4 separate regions of the Homo sapiens genome follow, and regions 2, 3 and 4 are each linked to region 1. The links are contacts of gene promoters, found by promoter capture Hi-C in blood cells and fetal thymus (Javierre and others, 2016). All regions are on one chromosome and are shown on one strand. The core of a region is centred on a gene start or on the middle of the fragment in contact, and the rest is flanking DNA. Distances in the headings are between cores, read along the strand shown.

What was found. Contacts are between HindIII fragments. The CHiCAGO score rates a contact against its expected background, and 5 or more counts as called.
Region 2: a contact is called between a fragment that was not itself captured here and the fragment with the promoter of WDR44 in region 1, in 1 of 17 cell types (activated CD4 T cells). The highest score is 5.5, in activated CD4 T cells.
Region 3: a contact is called between a fragment that was not itself captured here and the fragment with the promoter of WDR44 in region 1, in 1 of 17 cell types (activated CD4 T cells). The highest score is 5.5, in activated CD4 T cells.
Region 4: a contact is called between a fragment that was not itself captured here and the fragment with the promoter of WDR44 in region 1, in 1 of 17 cell types (activated CD4 T cells). The highest score is 5.0, in activated CD4 T cells.

Annotation. Positions count from the first base shown.
Region 1 is chrX:118,344,524-118,347,755 of GRCh38, forward strand. WDR44 (WD repeat domain 44) reads left to right here and starts at 1,583. Exons shown (of 20, transcript NM_019045.5): 1 at 1,583-2,057. The coding sequence starts at 1,981. RefSeq lists enhancers at 814-933, 1,124-1,173, 1,715-2,258. The HindIII fragment of the contact is 5,332 bases long and covers 1-3,232 here.
Region 2 is chrX:118,522,940-118,526,201 of GRCh38, forward strand. The region is part of intron 1 of DOCK11 (dedicator of cytokinesis 11); the gene reads left to right. Among named protein-coding and RNA genes, the nearest start is that of DOCK11, 29 kb to the left of the region's middle. RefSeq lists an enhancer at 1,241-1,300. The HindIII fragment of the contact is 2,286 bases long and covers 160-2,445 here.
Region 3 is chrX:118,558,260-118,561,385 of GRCh38, forward strand. It overlaps DOCK11 (dedicator of cytokinesis 11), which reads left to right. Exons shown (of 53, transcript NM_144658.4): 7 at 3,124-3,126. Among named protein-coding and RNA genes, the nearest start is that of DOCK11, 64 kb to the left of the region's middle. The HindIII fragment of the contact is 2,676 bases long and covers 362-3,037 here.
Region 4 is chrX:118,541,753-118,544,764 of GRCh38, forward strand. DOCK11 (dedicator of cytokinesis 11) reads left to right here. Exons shown (of 53, transcript NM_144658.4): 2 at 973-1,089; 3 at 1,174-1,263; 4 at 1,759-1,841. Among named protein-coding and RNA genes, the nearest start is that of DOCK11, 47 kb to the left of the region's middle. The HindIII fragment of the contact is 407 bases long and covers 1,479-1,885 here.

The sequences.
Region 1 (3,232 bases), core at 333-2,832:
TAAATATATATTTCCCTACCTTATATCTGGTATCTTTCCATAATCCAAAAAGAAAACAAAAAAACCTATCTTAGTGAGCAAAACGTTTTTAAAAGTTAGTACTTTGAGTTACATTTTTATACCTAGGAAGTTAATTAACATGTTTAAGACACATAAAACCTAATAATTTTTAGGTTTGACAAAAGTCATACCCTCACAAGGATCCACAAATCCCTTGTCTCCAATTCTGAAACTTCAAAAGCTCTGGAAACCAAGTTTCTGTTTTTTTTTTTTTTTAGTAATTTATTTGACAGTCAAATAGATCTATCTTAAACTTATTTGGCAGAAGCGTCTGACTCAAACTGAATGAGGCTATTTACTTGTATTTATTTATCCCGTATGAACAATCATATATCTTGCTGCAAAAATATTAATATATTTGATTACGCAGTGTTTTCCCTAAACTCCCTGGGGTATTATAGAATATACAGTATATGACATTTGGTTTTTACCCAAGTCCACTAGACCACAGCAGACCTTGCCCTGATTGCTTGACAAAGTCTAGAGCCCCTTTCCAGTTTCTCTGAGACCATACCCCTGGCTCCAATCCAGCCTTTTCTTGAATACTAATTGAGGCTGCACGAACAGCTCAAAATGCCTATCATGATGTCAGTTGGAGAAATAAATATGCTGTGTGATCATACTGAAAGTCAATGTTATCACCTTGATGGTCAATGACCCGTGGTTTAAGAAGGAACATCTCGGTTTTTTAAAAAGTACCTTTCTATTTTTATCACCGGACGCTGGGCAGTTGAGGATCAGAATTAAGCCATTAGCTCGTAGGCTTGCAATGATATCTGCTCAATAAATATTTACCATTTAGCTGACGCACATCTTGGGCAGTATGTAAGAACTTCTCTCACACTGTGTTGGCAGCGACAGACATGTGCGGAGAAAAAGTAACCGGAGGCCTAATACTGGCTCAGCTCCAGCAATAAATCCATCATTACACCATGGAACTGGCACACTCCCCGTGTATATCTCAAGGACCCCACCCTCTGGCCGGCAGGATCATATCTAGGGATCTCAATTAGAGATCTCGTAGTGAATAAGGGCGAGTTATTCTCGTAACGCCAGAGGTGGTGGACCTGCCGACGCCCTAGGGTGGGACATTCCGGGCTTGGATAGTAAGACATCGTAAATATACGCCAAAATGTCCACACCAACGTTTCCCGAGAGTATTTCTTTACAAGTAAAAGACCGACTCAAAATCACCCCTCTCAAAACGCGTCTCTTTGGAACTGCAGAGTTAGGGAGTAAGACTTTCTGCCTGACCCCACCTACGTCGGCCGCGCGCTCTCAGAGCCAGGGCACCACGCTGCTCCTGCGCAGGTCCTAGACTCCTCCCTTCGGGAGGCTCACCCCCTCCCTTCTCGGCTACTTCCGGCCCTCACCGAACGCCCTCAACGCGCTTGCGCCGTTTTGATAGGCTTCTCGGGCCGAAGTAATCGGAGCGCTGCCTCTCTGGAACCGCCCCCGCCACCTCTTCGCCCCGCCCACGTATTACCGCCCCTCCGAAATCTCGCGAGGGTAGGTGCGCGTCGGTATTTTGCGGGCAACTAGCTCTTCCAGCTGCTGTAAATTGCTGCTGCGGGAGAAACTGGAGCCGCTGTAGCCGGCGCGCCCTTCTTCCCTTACTGCGAGGAGCCACCGCCTCTTTCGCGCTCCTTATACACCTATCACTGGGAGCGGTGGCAGCAACATTCCCTGGACCAACCGCCGCCTCTTCAGGCGGCCGCTTTGCCGGTCATTCCCGAAGCCCGGCAACTGAGGGCGGCCCCCTTTCCTTAACAGTCTCCTCGCTACAGATCGTCTGCTCCCTCAGCCTCGCCCGAGACCCACTTCCCCAGTCTCGCCCGGGTGGAGGTCGACGAGGAGGAGACAAGAGTCACCCTTCCTCCAGGCGGCGCCGGCCCCCTCACCCGCGGGTGTGTCCTATAAATGGCGTCGGAAAGCGACACCGAGGAATTCTATGATGCCCCTGAAGATGTGCACCTAGGGGGCGGCTACCCCGTGGGGTAAGTGACTGCAGCTATGACAGGAAGCCGGGCATCCCAAGCCCCCCGCATCTCCTGTGTCTTCCCCCTACACCCCTCCCAGGTCCCGCTGTGTCCGCCACCGCTGTTCCTCCCCGTCTCACTGGAGGACTTCAGAACCCAGACCTGGGGCTTCTTAGGGCGGGGTGACTCGGAGAAGGGGGAGTCAGCCACCTCGGGCAGCCTCCCGGCCGTTTCCCTACTGAACGGTCCCAGGGTCGGTCTCGGAGCCCGTTTCTCTTCTGATCCAGCCTTCTGTGAGGGGGAACAGCTTACGTGCCTGAGTCGGAGATTTGTATCTGTGGGGTTCTGAGCTTACCTTTCAAACATCCGTTTTGGCCTCGGGGACCGTAGATTAAAGGAGCAGTAACAGGAGAAATGTAACTTGTAGTTTTTTATTCTCCCGTTTACCGCTAACTTACCTATTCACTTCAGAGGTGGCTGTAACTCTCCCCTATTTGCCGTCCTCTTTTTCTTGCACACAGCGAAAAGGAGCGGGGGGAAGGTTGGGTATTTGCTTAAGAAAGTCCTCTAGCGAATGTACTCTAGATCAACAGTGTTTTATTAAAATAACACCTTATCGTGAGGTAAAGGAAATCGAATACACGGTCCCTATTAGGCAGAATGCGGTCTAAAAGGATGGCCAGACAGAAGAAATGTGCACAACTGACTGCAGAGGGACAAACAAGTGCTGAGTAATCTGGTGATTGGAAGGAGAGCCCCAGCTTTGTGTTCTTTATCTAATTCTGCAAGATGTTTTAGTGGTGATTAATATGGGTGATTCTGAATAGGAAGTACAGTAGTTGGAATGCTCGCTTGACTAGGACTTGTATTTACTTACCCACTTCTCCACTTTTCAAAGTTGGGGTAGTGCTTTAAAGCGATTTCGCCGAACTCCCCTACGAATGTACGTGGAAATAGAGGCAGTGAAATATATTTTCATGCTGTAAGAACTTGAGGATTGGTAAAATGTAGATGTTAGTATAAAGGACTAATATGGTTCGAGAAGTTCACTGCCTTCAATTCTCACACTTACTCCGTGGGAGTAATAACCCGCTGTGATGCAAGTATAGTTAGCCATGCATGCTAGAAGTCATTCTAAAAACTAATGTATGTTTATACACAATATGCACCAAAAAGTTACAGTAATAAAATCA
Region 2 (3,262 bases), core at 53-2,552, 180 kb after region 1:
CTCTATTTGCTCACTTGGGCAAGTTTCTGACCTCTCTTAATCTGTTTTCCCATTGATAAAATGTGAGTAGTGATAGTATTCTCTACCTCATACAGTCATTGCTAAAATTAAATGAGGTAACGCATGTAATGCATTTCGCATAGTACCTGGTGCTTAGCAAGCTTTCAATAAATGTTAGAAGCATAATAGAGAAGAGTTACATTTCTTCCTCCTGTCCTACATTTTCTTTCATTTCCCCACCCTCATAATGAAATGGCTTTGAGGGTAGGACATATGGTCACATGCTAAAGAAGTTGAGTTTTTGCCCTTAGGATTTGAATTAAATACAAAAAAGAACTTACTGAGCATAAAGGTTGTTTAACATTGAAATTTCTAAGCCATTTGTATGTCTAGGTGGAGACCTTTCTAGAAATATCCTTCTCATTGGATTCTTGGTTAAATGAATGCATGTGCAGCAGGCAGTTCATGGGGTTTTAGGTGTGCTTCCTAGGTAAGAAGATTTTAGGTTATTTACTCTGCTTATGAAAAGACAGTTTGGTAGGTTGGTGATCTGTAATTGTCAATACCTTTCAAAAACAAATCAGTACTTTGTAGAGCGAGAAATTTCAGTTTACAGGACCTGCACTGTGCACTGTGTTTCTCACGTTTAGTAAGGATATTCAACAGTTCAGCCTCACGATAGTCCTGAAATTTGGACTGAGTTTATTCACATAAGCTACTGAGACACAGCCATTTCTAGAGGATTTGAGTATAGTTCCGGGGCTATTCCTAGAAGAAAATGAATATGTATTGCTTTTTCTCATTGCCTGTGTAAATTGATCATACTCAATAATACTTAGAAAACAAACTCCCATGTGACAAATAGTTGGTTCGAAGGCCCATTTTGCAGGGGGGACTGAAGAGAAAGGAAATAAGGGGCAGAGAGACAAGAAGGGGAGTTTGATCCTCCGAGATGGAACTGAACTTGGGTGTCACTTTTCACAATAATTACTCAAGCATTCCTCTCCATTCAGTAGTGACAAATCTGCATGTTTGTCTTCTATGTGAGAAGTTTGGAAGTTTGAGTGTGTAGTTAAGAACCAGCCAGAAACAGAGAGCTGGTAGGGCTGAGGAATCGTATAAGCCTGTAAGATCTATGTCCTCCCCACCCTGCCTGTTTGCCCTTGCTGGGCTCACTACCACACCCAGATGAGTTTCCTTTCTGTGACTGTCATTAGTACACAAGTGCCCCACCGCATTAGCTGCCTAAAAAGGAGCCAAGTTGGGGGACGATTGATGAGTTTGTGACCTCATTGAGAATACCTCAGTTCTTGTTCCTTCACCCACAGAAGGGTAAAAAGGAGGTATTAGGCGTACCTTCTCCATCCATATTTCAGGCTGTCTGTTTGCTCCCTAAAAATTCAACCCATACCTTCTTTAAAAAATAAAGTTGATTACATTAACTTTATTTGTCGGTGTCCTCTGATTTTTTTCTCAAATCAGAGGACACTAACAGGAGAGTAAAAAGGCAACCCACAGAATGGGCAAAAGTATTTGTAAAGCATATATCTGATAAGAGATTAATGTCCAGAATAGATAAAGAACTCCTATAATGCAACAACAACAACAAACTTGATTTAAGTCAGGCAAAGGACTTAAATAGACATTTCTTTGAAGATGATAAACAAATGGCCAATAAGCACGGGAAAAGATACTCAAAACCATTAGTCATCAGGGAAATACAAATGAAAACCACAACGAGATACCACCTCACACCTGTTCTGATGGTTGTTATTCAAAAAACTGGAAAATAAGTGTTGAGGAACACGGGCGGGGCGGACCTGGAACCCTTGTGCATTGCTGGTGGGTAATGTAAAATGGTACAACCACTATGGAAAACAGTTAAGTGGTTCCTCAGAAAGTTAAATATAGAATTACCATATAATAGACTGGGAGAGGTGGCTCACACCTGTAATGCCAGCATTTTGGGAGAGGCAGGCAGATCACATGAGGTCAGGAGTTTGAGACAAGCCTGGCCAACATGGTAAAACCCCATCTCTACTAAAAAATATGAAAATTAGCTGGGCGTGGTGGCGTGTGCCTGTAATCTCAGCTACTCAGGAGGCTGAGGCAGGAGAATCACTTGAACCCAGGAGGCGGAGGTTGCAGTGAGCCAAAATAGCGCCACTGCACTCCAGTCTGGGTGACAGAGCGAGACTCTGTCTCAAAAAAAAAAAAAAGTATTACCATATAACCCAGCAATTCTATTAGGTGGAATTGGGAAATTCTCCCCAAAAGAATTGAAGGAAGGGACTCAGATACTTGTTTCACACCACTGTTCATAGCAGCATTGTTCACAATTGTCAAAAGGTGGAAACAGCCCAGTGTCCCTCAGCAGATGACCAATGGAATATTATTCAGCCTTAAAAAGGAAGGAAATTATGACACATGCTACAATATGCATGAAGCTTGAGGACATTATACTAAGTGAAAGAAGCCAGTCACAGAAAGACAAATTTTATATGATTCCACATATATGAGGTACCTAGAATAGGCAAGTACATAGAGACAGAAAATAGAATAAAGGTTACCAGGGATGGGCGGGGGCGGTGTGGAGGAAGTGCAGAGTTGAATGCGTACAGAGTTTCTCTTTGGGATGATGAGGAAGTTTGGAAATGGGTAATGATGATGATTGCAGAGTAATGTGAATATAGTTAATGCCAAATGCAGACACTTATATAGTATATACTTAACGAAGTATATACTTTAAAATAGTTAAAATGGTAAATTTTATGTATATTTTTACCACAATAACTAAAAAAACCAAATTAAGTTGATTGTATGTTTTGGATTATACCAGCGGTACTTGTTTGTGCTAGAAAACTCTGGGGGAAAACAGAAAAGGAAAAAAAAAGAAAAAGAACGTAACACCTCCATTTGGAATACATAAATCTTTAATGTTTTGATTTGACCATGTTTCTTTTTAACTACCCTCCCCTTGTCAGCAAAAATGACAATCACTTTCTACCACTTCCCGTATAGGTGGCAAAATAGTGCCTACTTATTCCCTGTGAAATTTCCATGTCTTAATTCACAAACAGAAAAGAAAGAAGAAAGACCTGAGCAGTGAAAAACATCGCTTCCCTGCTGGGCATTCTGTTGTAAACCTATCCTTAGCAAGGCGGTAGTTCCCAGGCCATGACATCTTGGGAGCAGCTACCAAGACAAGCACAAGGACCTGGGGTCAGCAGGTCTGGCTTCCAGCTCCAGTCGTATGAAAGAT
Region 3 (3,126 bases), core at 450-2,949, 210 kb after region 1:
ACCGCTCCTGGCCGCCTGTGTGAATTTGAATGAGCTCTTGATCCCTCAGTTTGCTGTTAGGTAAAATGTGGATAATGATACTTACCCCAAGAGGCATTAAAAGAATTAGCTATTGGTTACAAAAGGCTCGCAGCCTTCAAATGACAGGTATGATATAGAGTAATTACCATTATTCTGTATAGTCGTTATTTTAACACCTGTCTTCTTTTAGAAATGTAAAAAATATATATAAACTTATACCCTAAGTAGCTGCATTGTGGAAATTTTTTAAATGTCTAGGAAGTTATGTTTCTGATTTCCCTTTGATTTCCATGAGAGAGATTTAGGATATTCCTTTCTTCTTTGCAAAAGATATCTTAAAAGCTTCTCAGAAGTTGAAACCCAACATATATCATAAAATATTAGAATGAGAAGAGACCTTACAATTTGTTGTTGGGCAGAGTCTGATTTCTACATAGAGATGACTTTTAAAAATATTCCTTACTGTCCAAACTGTGTGTTTCTAGTGTATGAGAAATCACATGGGGAGAGTAGCTTCCAGGCTAGGAAGGCTGCTGTGTTATTTGTTCAAGTTGAATGAAATTATTTGTAGATTGTGGAAAAATATGATCTTACAGATCATCTCGTCTGATGTCATCATTTTACAAGTGAGTAAACTGAGAGAAGCAGAGTCTTGAGGACAATTTCACTGCTGGTTAGCAGGAGATACTGGCTGAGAATCAGTATCATAAGACTTTCAGGCAACTGCTCTTTCTGAGTGCTCTTTCAGGCATCATATTCTCTCCTCAGATTCATAAGCTACCTACCCTAGTGTCACATTTAGATATAATTGCAATGTTAGAGGAAGTGATTTGCTGTAATTTCATATCCCTTTCCATGTCCATTGTAATGATGCACTTTGCTAATATGGGAAGTGGTGGCTGCCACAGAATTTCTTTGCTTGGTGAGGCAGCTGTATGTGAAAAAAAAATTTCTCAGACTATAATTTGACTGTATGCCACAAATGTTTTGCTCTGTATTTTCTCTTCTTCTGCCTCTCTCTTTGTTGCTGGCTGTTGACTCTGCAAGTGGATTCTGTAGGCTGTCCCACTGAAGCAGCAGAATTTCAGTTTTAGATTTGAACAATTCAAATATAAATTTTTTCATATTATTTTTTTCATGTTACTTTTGGCCTGAAAGATGTATTCTAGTTTTGTTATAGATAATTACTGTGATAACTTTAAAAAGCAATGTGTTATACAAAGTTAGTGTTCATTACATGTTATTCATTTGAAATGACCTCAGCATGTAATTTTAAGCCTTCTATTCCCATCATTTTAATGAGAGATGTGAACCATTGTCATGAAAATAAGCAAATAGGCCAGGCAGGGTGGCTCACTTTTGGGAGGCTGAGGCAGAAGGATCCCTTGAGCTCAGGAGTTCGAGACCAGCATGGGCAACATAGGGAGACCTTGTGTCTACTAAAAATAAAAATAAAAATAAAGAAAATAAGCAAACATGCATATATAATCACCATTATGATTAACATTTTCCTTTAATATTAATCTAGATTTCTTCCAGCAAACTTAAATGTAGATTAATTGAATATGAGAATATATGTATATATTCTCACATATATGAGATATGTACATATATGAAAGATATAAATATACCCACACATTCTCTTTCTGTTCCTTTGCATACTAATACAATAACATTTAATTGACTGGCATTGCAAAACAAGCTGATGTTTTCTGCTAGGACTCTTTTCTGTTGATAGCACGTAGCCCACATGGCCCCTTCCCGAGATAGAAGCTGTAGCATTTATCAGTCTAACCTGTTAGGGTATTCCTTACACTGATATATATTTTTGTCATTCATTAAAAAAAATCAATGATATTTATACAAGTCAAAAATAAATATCAATGTTATTTATTTTTACTGGTTTTTCTAAAAAGAAATGTCCCTTAAGGCTTTTATATATTTTGCTTGGTCATGCTATGGAGAAATAAATTGATGTTTCAGGTACTTTGCCAGACGTTAAGTTGTTGGCAAGAACGATCTTGCCAAATAATACTCTTTCCATAATTAAAGTTCTCAAAATGATCAGGGATCATATTGGATAATCAGATGGGTAATTAAAAATGACCAGCTTAAATTTTAAAGCCAGGTTCTTCGAATAAGACAAGATGCATAGGAATGCATTTCCTCAATAATCACCAGGAGCTGCTCTTCCCATCTCACCCTGAAGTGACTTCAGATCTGTCATCCTGGGAAATTGCAACTTGAATAAGCTCTGCCTTTCACTGTGACAATTGCTTGACATAGCCTGCAGTTTGTGACTTACTGAAAGAAGCATCAATTCATCAGAGAGCTCCTAATCCCTTTTCTCACCTCTTTTATCAGACTGTCAAAGTCTGTTTTTAGGGGAGAATAGAGGGACAGCATGAACTCATCAGGCAGTCCCCAACCTTTTCCTGTTCCTGTGGGCTTTGCTGTGAGTTGTAGCAACAGGCTACTCCTTAACTATTGTGAATCCCTAACTCCAAACAAATGGCATAGTTCCATTAGGCCTGTTGATTTAAAGCTCAGCACTTGGGGCACTCGACAACAACTGGCAGGCAACTAATGACTCTGTGCTTCCCTGTGAGTGCCCTGTAAATTGGACTTTCAGAAGCAAAGACAGTGGTACAGTGTAGATGAGTACATGTGTAGGTGAGATGGAAATATGTAATGTGGGTATATGTATATATGTATATATATGCTTTTTATGTTTATTCTTGGATTCGTGGTAATAGAAACCAAATTAAAATGATGTAATCATGGTTTGCAATTAAATGGGAAAAGAATGCTATAGTGAAAGGGTCAGGAGATTCAGATATCAGAATGCTTTATACATTTCAAAGTGTTAAGTCTTAATTATTGTTCTCTAGATATTTGATTAACTGAGGGTAAATCATGTGATTTTCATTCACTATCTTAGAAAAATGAAGATAATGATAATTCCTAACATCTTGTCAGGGTTGTCTGAAGATTGTCCAGGCACAATTGCCTGGCAAGCTTTTGAGGTTTTTAGTTCAGAGAAACTATTCAAATGCAATGTATATGTAACAAATGTATCATTGCTGGGTTTTCCCCATGTAGGTA
Region 4 (3,012 bases), core at 432-2,931, 200 kb after region 1:
ACTCTTATTATGTTACATCCTGGCTTTCTTAGCATCACTGACCCTGCTTCTTGTTACTTTAGCTTCAGTCTGGGTCCTACTGTCAATGGCCAGCTCGCCTAGAAGTCCAGCAGGGATCCACTGACTTTGTCACCTTGAACCTAACCCTTTCATAACCTGCCCAAGGGATCAAGCATCTCTAGTATCTATGCCTGCCCTGGATATGCTGGAACTTAGTATGCCCATGGGACAGTGTCCCTGGTACAGAGTAGGAACATGAATGTTGATACTTTCTCCTCCAACGTTGCCCAGAGAGTAGTACAGATGCAGTAAATACCAACAGGCACACTTCCAAGTATGCCACTTTTTGTTTTACTTAAAATTCAATAATTTTTAGAAGGCACACAGATTAAGTAGAATAACACAGTTCTATTTCTCCAGAACTTTTTTTTTTTTTTTGGAGAGACAGGATCTTGCTCTGTTGCCCAGATATAAGTGGCACAATCACGGATCACTACAACCTCAACCTCCCAGGCTCAAGTGATCCTCCTGCCTCAGCCTCCCGAGTGGCTGGGACTACAGGCATGGGCTATCACACCCAGCTAATTTTTGTACTTTTTGTTGAGATGGGGTTTTCTCATGTTGCCCAGGCTGATCTCTAATTCCTGGGCTCAAGTCATCCACCTTCCTCAGCCTCCCAAAGTACTGGGATTACAGGCATGAGCCACCATGCCCAGCCAGAACTCTTTATCTTTAGCAAGAGAATGTCTGTGTGTGTGTGTGTGTGTTTGTGTGTGTGTGTGTGTGTGTGTGTATGTGTTTGTGGTGTGTGTCTAGCTATGAAGACTATTTCTCTTGTGAAACTGTCTCAATTAAGTACTTAAAAGTATCAGTAATCCCTTCCTTTGAGAAGTAATGTATCTTTAGTACATAGAAAGTTATTTAACTCTTGTGAGTTTGATCATAATAACTTTACTTTTGTCTCTTATAAAGGAAAAGGCCAAAGTTGTTGAGCCCCTGGACTATGAGAATGTTATTGCCCAAAGAAAAACCCAGATTTACAGCGACCCCCTCCGAGATCTGCTTATGTTCCCAATGGAAGATATATCTGTGAGTTCACAAACACTTCTTTAAAGAAAAAAACCCCTATTTTTCAAGCCAGTTCTTACAGCAAAAATGTTCTTTGTGTTCTAGATCTCGGTGATAGGTCGTCAACGCAGAACGGTGCAGTCTACTGTACCAGAAGATGCTGAAAAGAGGGCCCAGAGTTTATTTGTTAAAGAGGTAAGAGGCTCAAAGGCCACAGAAGAATATTCTTCATATATTTAAAATATATACAGTATTTATATGTCTTTATGTATTTGTAACCTGTTTATAAATACATAAATGTAAAATATTTAAAGTAGTCTTCCTTTAATGTAAAGGTAAAATAAAATAACTAACATTAACTGTCCTAAATAACAAGTTTATATGCTGTTAACAAGTCTATATGATGATAAAGCTTAAACATTTCCACAAGGTGCATATGACCTTAGTGTTTTCCTTTTGGATTTGAATACTCTTTGCACTGAGAGTCAGAGTATTCAAAGGGCATATGAATTGGGATTTATTGCCACCAACTGGGTAAGAGAGACACAGTTAACCCATAAAGGAAGATCCCAGTACTAGTAATTGCCAAATGGTTTTAGAAAGCCTGTCGGCATAGTACCAGAGTTTTAAAAAGTGGATATATATGTACTTTTCCTATATTTCAAATTCAAGATTCCTATTTTCTTTCAGTGTATTAAAACCTATAGCACAGATTGGCACGTGGTAAACTACAAGTATGAGGACTTCTCTGGGGACTTTCGAATGTTGCCATGGTAAGTTTAGCATTCCAGGGAAACATGCAACAGGAGAATTATTAAGCTTTTTTACCTTGTTAAAACCACTTGTGAGGCCGGGTGCAGTGGCTCACGCCTGTAATCCCAGCACTTTGGGAGGCCGAGGCGGGCAGATCACAAGGTCAGGAGATCGAGACCATCCTGGCTAACACGGTGAAACCCTGTCTCTACTAAAAATACAAAAAATTAGCCGGGCGTGGTGGCAGGCGCCTGTAGTCTCAGCTACTTGGGAGGGTGAGGCAGGACAATGTTGTAAACCCGGGAGGCGGAGGTTGCAGTGAGCGGAGATCATGCCATCACACTCCAGCTTGGGCGACAGATAGAGACTCCATCTCAAAACAAACAAACACCACTTGTGAAACCTTTCAGTTATAATTTGTAATAAAGCAAATCTTCAAGGAACCTGCATGTTTGGTTAAATGCAGTGTTTTGGTTAATTGAATAGGTTTTAACTTTCCTCTTTGAAATTCCAAAATGTATGAGAGCTCACTTTTTGGCTTTAGTGAACCTGTATTGATCATAAACTAAAATATAGCTGATGATGGATAATGTAGTGAGCATTTTCCAGTAGTGTCAGTGAAAAAGCTTGATGATAATTAGTTCAGTTTGATGAACCTAGCCATCCCTTGGAAAAAGTGCATCTCTTTCAGTTGAATTGAAGGAATGGCATGAGCACACTGGCCCAGGAGCCAGACTGTTGGGGCTCAAATCTTATTTCTACCACTTACTAGCTGGATGACCATGGCTCAGTCACTTAACCTGTTTGAGCTCTCCATTTTCTCATCTCTAGCACTAATTCCTCACAGGATGTCATATGGGAAATGTTTTTGGAACAAATAGCAGAGGAATAAGACATTTGTTTAGCCTTTTGTAGTTTTCAGAGCACTTTCCAAAAGAGGAGAAAACTGAGTCCTATATGACAGCCTGGTCCTTGGGAAAAAAAAAGAAAAAGAAAAAGAAAACAGAGTCCTAAAATGACCAGTCCAAGGTCATACAGCAAACAAATGCAAGAGCCAGAATTACACTGTTGCTTTTTTTTTTTTTTTTTTTTTTTTTTTTTTTTGAGACAGAGTTTCGCTCTTGTCACCCAGGCTGGAGTGCAGTGGCGCGATCTCGGCTCACTGCAACCTCTGCCTCCCGGGTTCAGGTG